Linked DNA regions of Homo sapiens: region 2 is linked to region 1. Evidence: promoter capture Hi-C in human tissues and cell types (Jung and others, 2019). All regions are on one chromosome and are shown on one strand. The core of a region is centred on a gene start or on the middle of the fragment in contact, and the rest is flanking DNA. Distances in the headings are between cores, read along the strand shown.

Evidence for each region. The method cuts DNA at HindIII sites, captures the fragments that hold promoters and counts their contacts. A contact is called where the count stands out against the background at its distance.
Region 2: a contact is called between a fragment that was not itself captured here and the fragment with the promoter of APOL2 in region 1, in 1 of the 25 tissues and cell types used here (mesendoderm cells).

What each region holds. Positions count from the first base shown.
Region 1 is chr22:36,237,445-36,244,075 of GRCh38, reverse strand. APOL2 (apolipoprotein L2) reads left to right here and starts at 4,549. Exons shown (of 5, transcript NM_030882.4): 1 at 4,549-4,635. RefSeq lists enhancers at 4,261-4,310, 4,321-4,570, 5,108-5,622. The HindIII fragment of the contact is 12,319 bases long and covers 2,160-6,631 here.
Region 2 is chr22:36,055,911-36,062,541 of GRCh38, reverse strand. No RefSeq gene overlaps it. Among named protein-coding and RNA genes, the nearest start is that of RBFOX2, 30 kb to the right of the region's middle. The HindIII fragment of the contact is 5,087 bases long and covers 1,294-6,380 here.

The sequences.
Region 1 (6,631 bases), core at 3,300-5,799:
TTGGCCTTAGGACAATCTGCATCCCTCACAGTGGCCGCAGCAAGCCCTGCTTAAGGAAAGTCTGAGCTCAGACCCAGCTAACCCTGCCCTCCACCTGATGGTATTTCTCTACTTATCCTGGTAGCTGAACACAAAAGACATAAACTCGTGGGAGCTTTATGGCCCTGCCAATCACCTGAGAAACTAGAATACTTACCCTGGTCAACCTAGGGCAAGCTTGTATCTCCCTTCTACTACCGCAGCTGGTGCTCTCTTGAAAGTGCCACTTCCTGGCTGGAGACCAACCAACTCAGGCCATTACAGCAACTCATGACAGAATAACCCTATTCCCAGGAAGGAGAAGACAAGAGCTAATACCACTGCCCGCAACATCCTGACTGACCAGAGGTCCTCAGTCTCTCCACATGACAGCTTCACTGCTAGCATAACCAGCATTGGAGAAAACAGCACACTAAAGAGAACTACAACCAATGACTCTCACGGAGTCTACTTCACTCGCCTGTCACCTACACCAGAGTAGGTGCTGGTATCCATGGCTAGGAGACCAGAAGATGATCACATCACAGGACTCTTTGCAGACATTCCCCAGCACCAACCCAAAGGCTGGTATAGCCCCAGTGGGTGGCTATACCCAGAAGAGCAATAACAATCACTGCAGTCTGGCTCTCAGGAAGCCCTATTCCTAGGAGAAGGAGAGTACCACATCAAGGAATAACCCGTGGGACAAAAGAACCTGAACAGAAGGAGTTGAGTTTCAGATCTTTCCACTGAAATAGTCTACCCAAATGAGAAGGAACCGGAAAAGTAATTCTGGTAATATGACAAAACATATTTCTATAACACCCCCCAAAGCTATTGCTAGCTCCCCAGCAATAGATACAAGCCAACAAAAAATCTCTGAATTGCCATATAAAGAATTTAGAAGGTTGATTATTAAGCTATTCAAGGAGATAGCAGAGGAAGGTGAAAACCAACTTAAAGAAATTTTAAAAAATACAGAATATGGATGAAAATTCTCCAGAGAAATAGATATCACAAAGAAAAAACAATCACAGCTTCTGGAAATGAAAGACACACTGAAAGAAATACAAAAGGCACTGGAAAGTTTCAACAATAGACTAGAACAAGTAGAAGAAAGAACTTCAGAGCTTGAAGACACAGCTTTCAAATTAACCCAATCAGACAAAGACAAAGAAAAAAGAATTTTAAAAAATGAGCAAAGCCTCCAAGAAATTTGAGATTATGTTAAATGGCCAAATTTAAGAATAATTGGTGTTGCTGAGGATGAAGAGAAATCTAAAAGTTTGGAAAACTTATTTGAGGGAATAATTGAGGAAAACTTCCTTGGCCTTGCTAGAGATCTAGATATCCAGATACAAGAAGTTCAAAGAACATCTGGGAAATTCATCACAAAATGATCCTCACCTAGGCACATGTCATCAGGGTATCTAAAGTCAAGAAGAAGGAAATAATCTTAAGAGCTGTGAGACAAAAGCATAAGGTAACCTGTAAAGGAAAATCTATGAGATTAACAGCTAATTTATCAGCAGAAACCATACAAGCCAGAAGGGACTGGAGTCCTGTTGTTAGCCTCCTTAAACAAAATAATTGTTAGTCAAGAATTTTGTATCCAGCAAAACCAAGCTTCATAAATGAAGGAGAGATAAAGTCTTTTTCAGACAAACAAATGCTGAAAGAATTCGCCACTACCAAGCCAGTACTACAAGAAATGCTAAACGGAGTTCTAAGTCTTGAAACAAAACCTCGAAATACACCAAAATAGAACCTCCTTACAGCATATTGTTTTATAAGCCTTAGGGCCTATAAAACAATAACACAATGAAAAAAATAAGGTATTTAGGCAACAACTTGCCTGATGAATAGAACAGCACTTTATATCTCAATACTAACATTGAATGAAAATGGGCTAAATGGTTCACTTAAAAGGTACAAGGGCTGGGTGCAGTGGCTCACATCTGTAATCCCAGCACCTTGGGAGGCTAAGGCAGGCAGATCACGAGGTCAGGAGATCGAGACCATCCTGGCTAACACAGTGAAACCCCATCTCTACTAAAATACAAAAAAAAAAAAAAAAAAAAATTAGCCAGGTGTGGTGGTGGGCGCCTGTAGTCCCAGCTACTCGGGAGGCTGAGGCAGGAGAATAGCATGAACCCAGGAGGTGGAGCTTGCAGCGAGCCAAGATCGCACCACTGCACTCCAGCTTGGGTGACAGAGAGAGACTCCATCTCAAAAAAAAAAAAAAAAAAAAAAAAAAAAGGTACATAATGGCAGAATGGTACCGGTATAAAAATAGGCACATAGATCAAGGGAACAGAATAGAGAACCCAGAAATAAAGCCAAATACTTTCAGCTAACTAGTCTTTGACAAAGCAAAGAAAAACGTATAGTGCGGAAAGGACACCCTATTCAACAAATGGTGCCAGGATAATTGGCAAGCCACATGTAGAAGAATGAAACAGTATCCTCATACAAAAATCAACTCAAGATGGATCAAAGACTTAAATCTAAAACCTGAAACCATAAAAATTCTAGAAGATAACATCGGAAAAACTCCTCCAGACATTGGCTTAGGCAAAGAATTCAGGACCAAGAACCCAAAAATAAATGCAACGAAAACAAAAATAAAGAGATGGGACCTAATTAAAGTAAAAAGCTTCTGCACAGCAAAATAAATAATCAGCAGAGAAAACAGACAACCCTCAAAGTGGGAGAAAATATTTGCAAACTGTGCATTTGACAAAGGACTAATATCCAGTTTCTACAAGGAACTCAAACAAATCAGCAAGAAAAAAAAAATAATCCCATCAAAAAGTGGGCAAAGGACATGAATAGACAATTCTCAAAAGAAGATATACAAAATGAAATGGCCAAAAAAATATGAAAATGTGCTCAACGTCACTAATTATCAGAGAAATGCAAATTAAAACTGCAATAAGTTGCCACCTTACTCCTGCAAGAATGGCCATAATTTAAAAATCAAAGAAGAATAGAAGGGTGCAGTGGCTCACACCTGTAATCCCAGCACTTTGGGAGGCCAAAGCAGGTGGATCACTTGAGGTCAGGAGTTCAAGACCAGCCTAGCTAAAATGGTGTGAATATGGTGACAAGGGAAAACTTTTACACTGGTGGTGGGAATGTAAACTAGTACAACCACTATGGAAAACAGTATGGCAACTCCTTAAAAAACTAAAAGTAGAATACCATTTGATCCAGTAATCCCACTACCGGGTATCTACCCAGAGGAGAAAAGTTATTATATAAAAAAGATACTCGCACATGCATGTTTATAGCTGCATAATTTGCAACCGAAAAAATATGGAACCAACCTAAATGCTCATCAGCCAACAAGTGGATGAAGAAAATGTGTGTGTATATACACACACACACACACACACACACACCCCTATATATGTATATGCCATGGAATATTACTCAGCTGTAAAAAGGAAGGGAATAATGGCATCCGTAACAATCTGGATGAAGTTGGACACCATTATTCTGAGTGAAGTAACTCAGGAATGGAAAACCAAATATTGTATGTTCTCATTTATTAGTAGGAGCTAAGCTATGAAGACACAAAGTCACAAGAAGGATACAATGGGCTGGGCGCCGTGGCTCACACCTGTAATCCCAGCACTTTGGGAGGCCAAGGCAGGTGGATCACTTGAGGTCAGGAGTTCAAGACCAGCCTGGCCAAGATGGTGAAACCCCATCTCTACTAAAATTACAAAAAATTAGCTGGGTGTAGTGGCAGGCACCTGTAATCCCAGCTACTCGGAAGCTGAGATGGGAGGATGGCTTGATTGTGCCACTTGAAGTAGCTATGATTGTGCCACTGCTCTCCAGCCTGGGCTACAGAGCAAGACTCTATATCAAAAACATAACAGAAAACATAACCTCAGAAGCATTACAATAAATATGCAATAAGCATCCACCCAGCATGTGTGGGGGACTGTGCTGATGCTGATGGCATGTGTGGGAGTAAGGCAGGCATCTGAGGAATGTGGGGGAACGGAAGGACGGGGAGTAATCTGGAGAGCCCCACGGTCAGTCAGTGGCAGGTCTTTCTTGAGCTCAGAAAGGTTAGGTAACTAGTTCAGATCAGACAGTAAAACAGGGGCAGAGCCTGGAATTGCACTGAGGCTTGAGTCTGACTTCTCTCCCCCACCTGCTGTGCCCTTAAACTGCAGAGATCGGGGCGGGGGTTGGGGGGCAAGCGGCTCAGATGGGTTCAAAAAACTCCCCAGGCTCAACTCTGGTTCTGACTGCCTGAGACATGGGCAGCTGACACAGCAGACCTTGAATCCTGAGGATGTGAGGCAGGTGGGTTGGATGAGAGGGACCCGGATGTCTGGTCTGCGGCTGCTCCTCTAAGTGCAGCAGCAAGGAGGCTGGGCCTGGACTGCAGGTGGTGCTGGGGAGCAGCGTGTTTACTGTGCTTGGTCATGAGCTGCTGGGAAGTTGTGACTTTCACTTTCCCTTTCGAATTCCAGGGTATATCTGGGAGGCCGGAGGACGTGTCTGGTTATTACACAGATGCACAGCTGGACGTGGGATCCACACAGCTCAGAACAGTTGGATCTTGCTCAGTCTCTGTCAGAGGAAGATCCCTTGGTAAGTTGGGGATAGTGTGATCTACCCCCATGTCCTTATTCTTGCAATAGCTCTATAAGGGAAGGATCATTCAGCTTTTGTAGATAAGCTCAGAGAGGTTAGGTAGCTGGTTCAGATCAGACAGGAAAGCAGTGGCAGAGCCGGGATTTGCACCCAGGCTTGAGTCTGATTGCTCCCTCCCTCCTGCTGGGCGGGTAAACTGTAGAGAGAGGTGGGGAAAACAGCTTAGATGGGTTCACAAAGCTCCCCGGGCTCAGCTCTGGTTCTGACACCCTCAGACACGGCCAGCTGACCCCAGAAGAAAGGTAGGTGTTGGGGGTGCCCATCTCTTTGGGAAATTTGAAGGAATCAAAGAAGGTGGAGGAGGGGAGGTGACCTGGAGCCCGGCATGTCCTTGTGGCCGGGCCACACCCAGGCTGGCCCCAGGGTGCTGCTGCTGAAGCCCAATGGGAACAACAGATTTCTTTTGAGACACAAGGAACTCAGAGGTTGTCTCACTCACCCTGAGTCTGAGCACCTACTTGTGCCAGGCCCTGTGGGGAAACTGAGGCCCTGGGAGGGGAATGACTTGCCAGGGTCCCGTGTCAGGAGGCTGAGCAGGCAGATCATAGGACTTCACGTCTCTGGCCCTCACCTCTGTCCCTCTGTTCAGACCTCTGAGCTGATAGAGAAGAAACAGGCTGTGCTGTGTCCCTAATGGGAAACATGGCTGAGACAGGGGAGTGAGAAGGTCGCATTGCAGAATGGTACCTGTGGCATGATGCCAGCTTTGCAATCATGAGATTCAAAAGCCACACTGTGGAATTGTGAGTATAACTACAGGAGTGAGAGCTTAGGTCTCTGTGTTTGTAGAAGCAGAATCAAACCTGGACACTGTTGGATTATTAAAATCACCCATTTTTGCTTCAATATCAGAGTCACAAGGGCAGATGTTGGCCTCCCCTCTGCCCTCCAAGAGCTGTGTGACTCTGGGCAAGTCACCTCCCCTCCCAGCCTAAGATTTTTCCCCTCTAAAAAACTTGATAGAGCTGCCAAAAGTCCATGAAATCAGGGGGGTAATTTCTGTGAAATATGAGTCATGGTCTTATTTGTTCTTCACCAAAAAGAGATGCCCATCAAGATAGAAAGAAAAATTAAATTCAATTTCTCAACTGAAAGTGAAACTGAAGCTGGGCCATGTCATCCAGAGGCTGGTTGCTTTTAGTTCAAGTAATGCCTCCTGCACCTGGGATTTCAGCCAGGCTGTGCCAGGGAGGGCGGAGGGCATCCAGGTCAGTCGTAGGGGGTGCAGCTGGGAACACAACAGTGTCCCCATTGAATGTTCAGAGTCTAAAGGGGAGACAGAGGCCCAAAGAGCCACATACAGGTAGAGCTCCCTCTGGAAAGCAGAGTGCTCAGGGAGCCTGGGGAGGGTTGGGGGCCGCCGCATGGACCAGGCAGCTTTGGGTGGGTCTCTGAGGACAGGTGACTTGCACATGGTGGGGACAGTGGGGGGGACATTCCAGGGCGAGGGAGCAGCTGAGTGAAGGCCTGAGGCTGGGGATGGGAGTGGGAGGAGTAGATGGGCTCCAGGAGGCACCGAAGCAGGGCGTCAGTGGGTGCCTGGACCTAAGGTGACTGTGGTGGCAGGGAGCGGTGAGGAAGGTGGGGTCCAGAGCATCAGAGGGCCTGTGTGCCCTGCTATGGGGTTTGAACTTGACCGTGGCTTTTCACTGAAGATTCCTCAGAAGGGTGCAGTGCCACGGCTGAGGCCTGTAATTCAGTGCTGTGGGAGGCAGAGGCGGGAGAATCACATGATGCTAGGAGCTCAAGACAGCTTGGGCAACACAGGAGATGCTGTCTCTCTGAAATGAAAAATTAACAAATTAGTCCTGCATGGTGCCGTGTGCCTGTAGTCCCAGCTACCTGGAAGGCTGAGGCAGAAGGATCACTTGAGCCCAGGGGCTCTAGGCTACAGCAAGCTGTGATAGCCCCAAAGCACTCCAGACTGGGTGAC
Region 2 (6,631 bases), core at 2,588-5,087, 180 kb after region 1:
ACCCTGTCTCTACTAAAAAAATGCAAAATTAGCCAGGTGTGGTGGTGCATGCCTGTAATCCCAGCAACATGGGAGGCTGAGGCAGGAGAATCACTTGAACCTGGGAGATGGAGGTTGCAGTGAACCAAGATCATGCCATTTGCACTCCAGCCTAGGCAATAAGAGTGAAACTCCATCTCAAAAAAAAAAAAAAGAAAAAAGTTATTGACGACTCCAAAGAGCTTTTGTTCATGTAGGTTATATCTATCAACATTTACCAGATTAGAAATTGAAAGTGAGAATATTTCAAAATATTTATTTATTTATTTAAAAATAGGCCAGGCATAGTGATTCACGCCTGCAATCCCAGTACTTTGGGAGCCCAAGCCTGGCGGATCACTTGAGGTCAGGAGTTCAAGACCAGCCTGGCCAACAGGGTGAAACTTTGTCTCTACTAAAAATACAAAAATTAGCCAGGCATAGTGGCAGGCACCTGTAGTTCCAGCTACTTGAGAGGCTGAAGCAGGAGAATTGCTTGAACCCGGGAGGCAAAGGTTGCAGTGAGCAGAGATTGTGACACTGCATTCCAGCCTGGGCAACAGAGCAAGACTCCATCTCAAAATAAATAAATAAATAAAATAAAATAGTAAGCTCATTACATGTAAATATTTTTGCGAAAAATAGCTAAATCTTCCAAGACAAAAATAATTGGTGAGCAACATGGCATTGTTTTACAGCTTTGCAAGTCTTTTTGTTGTTTGGCTTAAATAGAAAACATCTCAATTCTCATCTTTGCTTCTGCAGTCAATCTGTTGCAATTTATTGTTTTGGTTGAAGTTTATGAGAAGATTGGCCCTCACATAAATATGTACTTGGGGGAAAATGAGGGCTATTTTTATGGCCTTTCAGATAATTGTCTTCTTTAATACTACACCAAAACTCAACTTGTGATAGCTCAAGTGATAGTTTCGTAAAGGTTAGTTGCAATGTGGGATACGGCTTCAATATACATAGACTTTTCTTACTCTGTTACATTGAAATCCATTGATCTAGCTTGCTTTTTTTTTTTTTTTTTTTTTTTGAGATGGAGTCTTGCTCTGTCGCCCAGTCTGGAGTGCAGTGGTGCAATCTCGGCTCACTGCAAGCTCCGCCTCCCAGGTTCATGCCATTCTCCTGCCTCAGACTCCCGATTAGCTGAGACTACAGGCACCCGCCACCTAGCCCAGCTAATTTTTTTGTATTTTTAGTGGAGACGGGGTTTCACCGTGTTAGCCAGGATGGTCTCGATCTCCTGACCTCGTGATCCACCCACCTCGGCCTCCCAAAGTGCTGGGATTACAGGCGTGCTATCTTGCATTTTTAATAGATATTTCATCCATGTATGATTTGACAGTATCAAGCATTGATCCTGTGGAAGATATTGATTCACTAACTTAAGCACAGCTTCCAAACAGTGATATATTTCATTACACTGTTGAATGTTGAGAAATCTCATTAGTTGAAAAATCTCATTAGTTAATGTTACCAGTGATATTACCACTGATTTTATCAGAAAATTATTTTAGTACTGGGACGCTGTCAAAGCCATGGTGTAAAATTTCCGACATTTAAGTTTTTGCTCAAAAGCTCAAGTGTTATCATTGACAACAAATACTGTCAGTTGCTTTCCTTGAAGTGACCATCTCACTGCATTCATTTTGTTTTTCAGTAGTTAGGAGTTTTTTAATCTTTCTCAAATAACTTTTTTTTAAAAACATTTTTTATTTCCATAGGTTTTGGAGGGAACAGGTGTATCTGTTACATGAATAAGTTCTTTAGTGGTGATTTGTGAGATTTTGGTGCACCCATCACCCAAACAGTATACACTAAATCCAATTTGTAGTCTTTTATTCTTCACCCCCTTCCCACCCTTACCCTCCGAGTCTTCAAAGTCCATTGTATCATTCTTATGCCTTTGCATCCTCATAGCTTAGCTCCCACTTATGAGTGAGAATATACGATGTTTGATTTTCCATTCCTGAGTTACCTCACTTAGAATAATAGTCTCCAGCTGGGCGCGGTGGCTCATGCCTGTAGTCCCAGCACTTTGGGAGGCCGAGACGGGCGGATCACGAGTTCAGCAGATCGAGACCATCCTGGCTAACACGGCGAAACCCCGTCTCCACTAAAAATACAAAAAATTAGCCAGGCATGGTGGTGGGCGCCTGTAGTCCCAGCTACTCGGGAGGCTGAGGCAGGAGAATGGCGTGAACCCAGGAGGCGGAGCTTGCAGTGAGCAGAGATCGTGCCACTGCACTCCAGCCTGGGCGACAGAGCAAAACTCCATCTCAAAAAAAAAAAAAAAAAGAATAATAGTCCCCAATCTCATCCAGGTTGCTGTGAATGCCATTAATTCATTTCTTATTATGGCTGAGTGATATCCCATCATATATGTGTGTGTGTGTGTGTGTGTATATATATGTATATATATGTACGTGTGTGTATATATGTATATATATGTACGTGTGTATATATATGTATATATGTACGTGTGTATATATGTATATATGTACGTGTGTATATATATGTATATATATGTACGTGTGTATATATATGTGTGTATATATATACACACACATATACAGGTACACATGTATATATATATACATATATATACACACACACACACACACACCCCCCACAGTTTCTTTATTCACTCATTGATTGGTGGGCATTTGTCTGGTTCCACATTTTTGCAATTGCAAATTGTGCTGCTATAAACATCGCTGCATTCATTTTTAAGAAAATATCTGCCAAATACTAAAATCCGAAGAGTCATAATTTTTTTCTTTGGCAGTTGTTCTTTCAACTAAAATATGGCATTCCATAAAGAATGGCTAGTTTCACCTGCAACTCAAACAATTACACAAGTGCCTTTCCTAGAGATAACCACAGTACTTTGGTATGCAAAAGAATTGTTTTATACATACTTCCCATTCCATCACACAGAATAATAGAAAGTCGTGCTGAAGGGTGAAGACTTAATAAAAATGATAATTTTACTGTTTCATTGAGGATATTCTTCTTAGATAAAACAAACTTTTTTTTTTTTTTTTTTTGAGACGGAGTCTCACTCTATCACCCAGACTGGAGTGCAGTGGCACAATCTCAGAGGCATAATCTCAGCTGACTGCAACTTCTGCCTCCCAGGCTCAAGTGATTCTTATGCCTCAGCCTCCCAAGTAGCTGGGATTACAGGCATCCACCGCCACATGCGGCTAATTTTTGTATTTTTAATGGAGACAGGGTTTTGCCATATTGGCCAGGCTGGTCTCGAACCCTGACCTCAAGGGATCTACCTGCCTTGGCCTCCCAAAGTGCTGGCATGTGAGCCACCGAGCCCACCCAAAACTCAATTTCATTTGAAACAACAGAAAGCTTTTTGCACGTCTACAGTGTGCACATTTGATGCCTAAAACAGAGACTGTCAAAGAATCTTGAAATGTCTAGGTAGGAAGTTTAGGCCAAGAAGTCAACTAGTGTATCCCTCTGACCATGTTATTTTGTGGGTTTTTTGTTTGTTTGTTTGCGAGACAGAGTCTTGTGCAGTGGTGAAATCTCGGCTCTCTGAAATCTCCACCTCCCAGGTTCAAGTGATTCTCCTGCCTCAGCCCCCTGAGTCACTGAAATTACAGGCACATGCCACCACACCCGGCTAATTTTTGTATTTTTAGTAGAGACGAGGTTTCATTATGTTGGCCAGGTTGGTCTCAAACTCCTAATCTCAAGTGACCCACCCACCTTGGCCTCCCAAAGTGTTGGGATTACAAGTATGAGCCACCGCACCCGGCCCCACTCAATATTGCTCTTGCACCATCATTCAAAATGTCAGGCAGGGTGTGTTGGCTCACACCTGTAATCCCAGCACTTTGGGAGGCCGAGGCGGGCAGATCATGAGGTCAGGAGATGGAGACCATCCTGGCTAACATGGTGAAACCCTGTCTCTTCTAAAAATACAAAAAAAAAAAAAAAAAAAAAAAATTAGCTGGGTGTGGTGGTGCAAGCCTATAATCCCAGCTACTTGGGAGCCTGAGGCAAGAGAATCCGCGCCACTGCACTCCAGCCTGGGTGACAGAGTGAGACTTGGTGTCAAAAAAAAAAAAAGTCAACAAAATAAAAAGAGCAAATCTTATGTTAGCATTGTTACAAAAATGATTTTGACCTCTTGGACTTCTTGAGAGGATTTGGAGACCACACTTTGAGAAATGATGCCCTACAGGCACCAAACTTCTTGGTGTGGCCCAGATAGCTCTCCATGACCTGCCCCTGCCAACCTCTCCAGCCCCGTCTCTCATACCATTCCATCTCTAATCAAGCCCATGCTTCAGCTGGGAAGAATAGACTCATTCTGCAGAGAAAGAGACCTGGCTCTAGAACCAAAACCAAGCTGCCTAGTTGCTCAAGAAGTGATATTCTTTTTTTTTTTTTTTTTTTGAGATGGAGTTTTGTTCTTGTCACCCAGGCTGGAGTGCAATGGCATGATCTCGGCTCACTGCAACCTCTGCCTCCTGGGTTCAAGTGATTCTCCTGCCTCAGCCTCCCGAGTAGCTGTGATTACAGGCATGAGCCACCACACCCAGCTAATTTTTGTATTTTTAGTAGAGAAGGGGTTTCACCATGTTGGCCAGGTTAGTCTCAAACTCCTGACCTCAGGTGATCCACCCACCTTGGCCTCCCAAAGTGCTGGGATTATAGGAATGAGGCACTGCTTCCAGCCAAGAAGTGGCATTCTTTCATGCTTCCAACCTCTGGGTGATATGATTTGGATCTGTGTCCCCACCCAAATCTCATCTTGTAGCTCCCATAATTCCCATGTGTTGTGGGAGGAACCCAGTGGAAGATGATTGAATCATGGGAGTGGGTCTTTCCTGTGCTGTTCTTGTGATAGTGAATGGGTCTTACGAGATCTGATTGTTTTAAAAAACAGGAGTTTCTCTGCATAAGCTCTTTTTTTGCCTGCTGCCACTCATGTAAGACGTGACTTGCTCCTCCTTGCCTTCCACCATGATTGTGAGGCTTCCCCAGCCAACCAGAACTGTAAGTCATTAAACCTCTTTCTTTTGTAAATTGCCCAGTCTCCAGTATGTCTTTATCAGCAGCATGAAAATGGACTAATACACTGGGCCTTTGCTTGAGCTGCTCACCCTGCCCAGAAGCCCCCTTCCCTTCTGGTGAGCTCCTATTCAGTCATCAAGGTCTAGTTCAAATATCATTTCCCCTGTGAAGCCTCCCCTTTCCCTTCAGTATACACTTACACTATTTTGTACAACTTTCATTTATAAAACTTAATACATTATAGAGTTCTGTGGTCTGAATGTATTCCCCCAAAATGCATATATTGAGACTTAGTCACCAGTGTGATGGTAAGAAGAGGTGGGGCCTTTAGGAGGTGATTAAGTCATAAGGTCAGAGCTCTCATGAATGGGATTAGTAACCTTATAAAAAAGGTTCAAGCCTGGGTGCAGTGGCTCACGCCTGTAATCCTAACAGTTTGGGAGGCTAAGTGGGGAGGATCACTTGAGCTCAGGAGTTTGAGACCAGCCTGGGCAACATAATGAGACCCTGTCTCTTAAAAAAAAAATAATTTAATAAAAAATTTTTAAACTTAATTTTTTCTTTTTTTTAATTCAAGAGAGCTGTCTTCCCCTTCCCCCACGTGAGGATGTAGCCACAAGGTACCATCTACGGAGCACAGAACAAGCCCTTAGCAGACACCGAATCTGCCAGTGCCTTGAGCTTGGACTTCCCAGACTACAGAACTATGAGAAATGAGTTTCTATTACTTATAAATTATGCAGTCTAAGGAATTGTGTGATAGCAGCCAGAGAGACTAAGACATTCTGGTTCACAGGACCTTATCAACAACTCAGACATCCCCAAACTGAAAACTGGACCTTATTTATTAACGTACTCAGTTCTTAAACTTGTCCTGAATGGATGTGAGGTTATTTATCATCTTTAAAAAAAAAATCTTATTTAGTGTGAATATCCATACATTTCACTGCAGCAATATTGTGTTTGATACTGAGGTGTTGCTGCAGGCCCCACTGGAGTACCATGAGAATCATGGCCCATATTACCTTTCTAAAATCTAATAAATCCTGAAATCTAAAACCTATATGACTCCCAAGGATTTGGGTGAGGGATTGTGGGCTTGTATTATGTTTCCTTGAGTATGTCCGCCTCTTCTGCTTAGCTGATATCTGTTAGGAGGGTACCATGCCCTAAACACGTCTGTATCCCAGATTCCAGCAGAGTGCCTGGTATGTGGTCGCATGAAGCAAAGTCTGTAGTGGCACACGTTGAGCTTATGAATTCCCATAACTCTATGGAGAAGTCCCACACCAAATTTTAAGGAGCAGATCGGATTTCAGAATTGCAGGGTAGAGTTCAGGTTACAACGACAGATTGCACATATGCGTCTAATTTTGCTCCCTCCTGAAACCTCACTGAAACTTCTGGAAGAGGAATACTTTTTTAAAAAGAGACATAAACCCACAATGTTGAGAAAAGCAGGATGGGAAAGCACGGCCACAAGAGGGGAGGGACGGGGGGTCACTGGTTGTCAGGCCTGGGAAAGCCTGACAAATGAGTCCCAGGCAGCCGTGGGAAG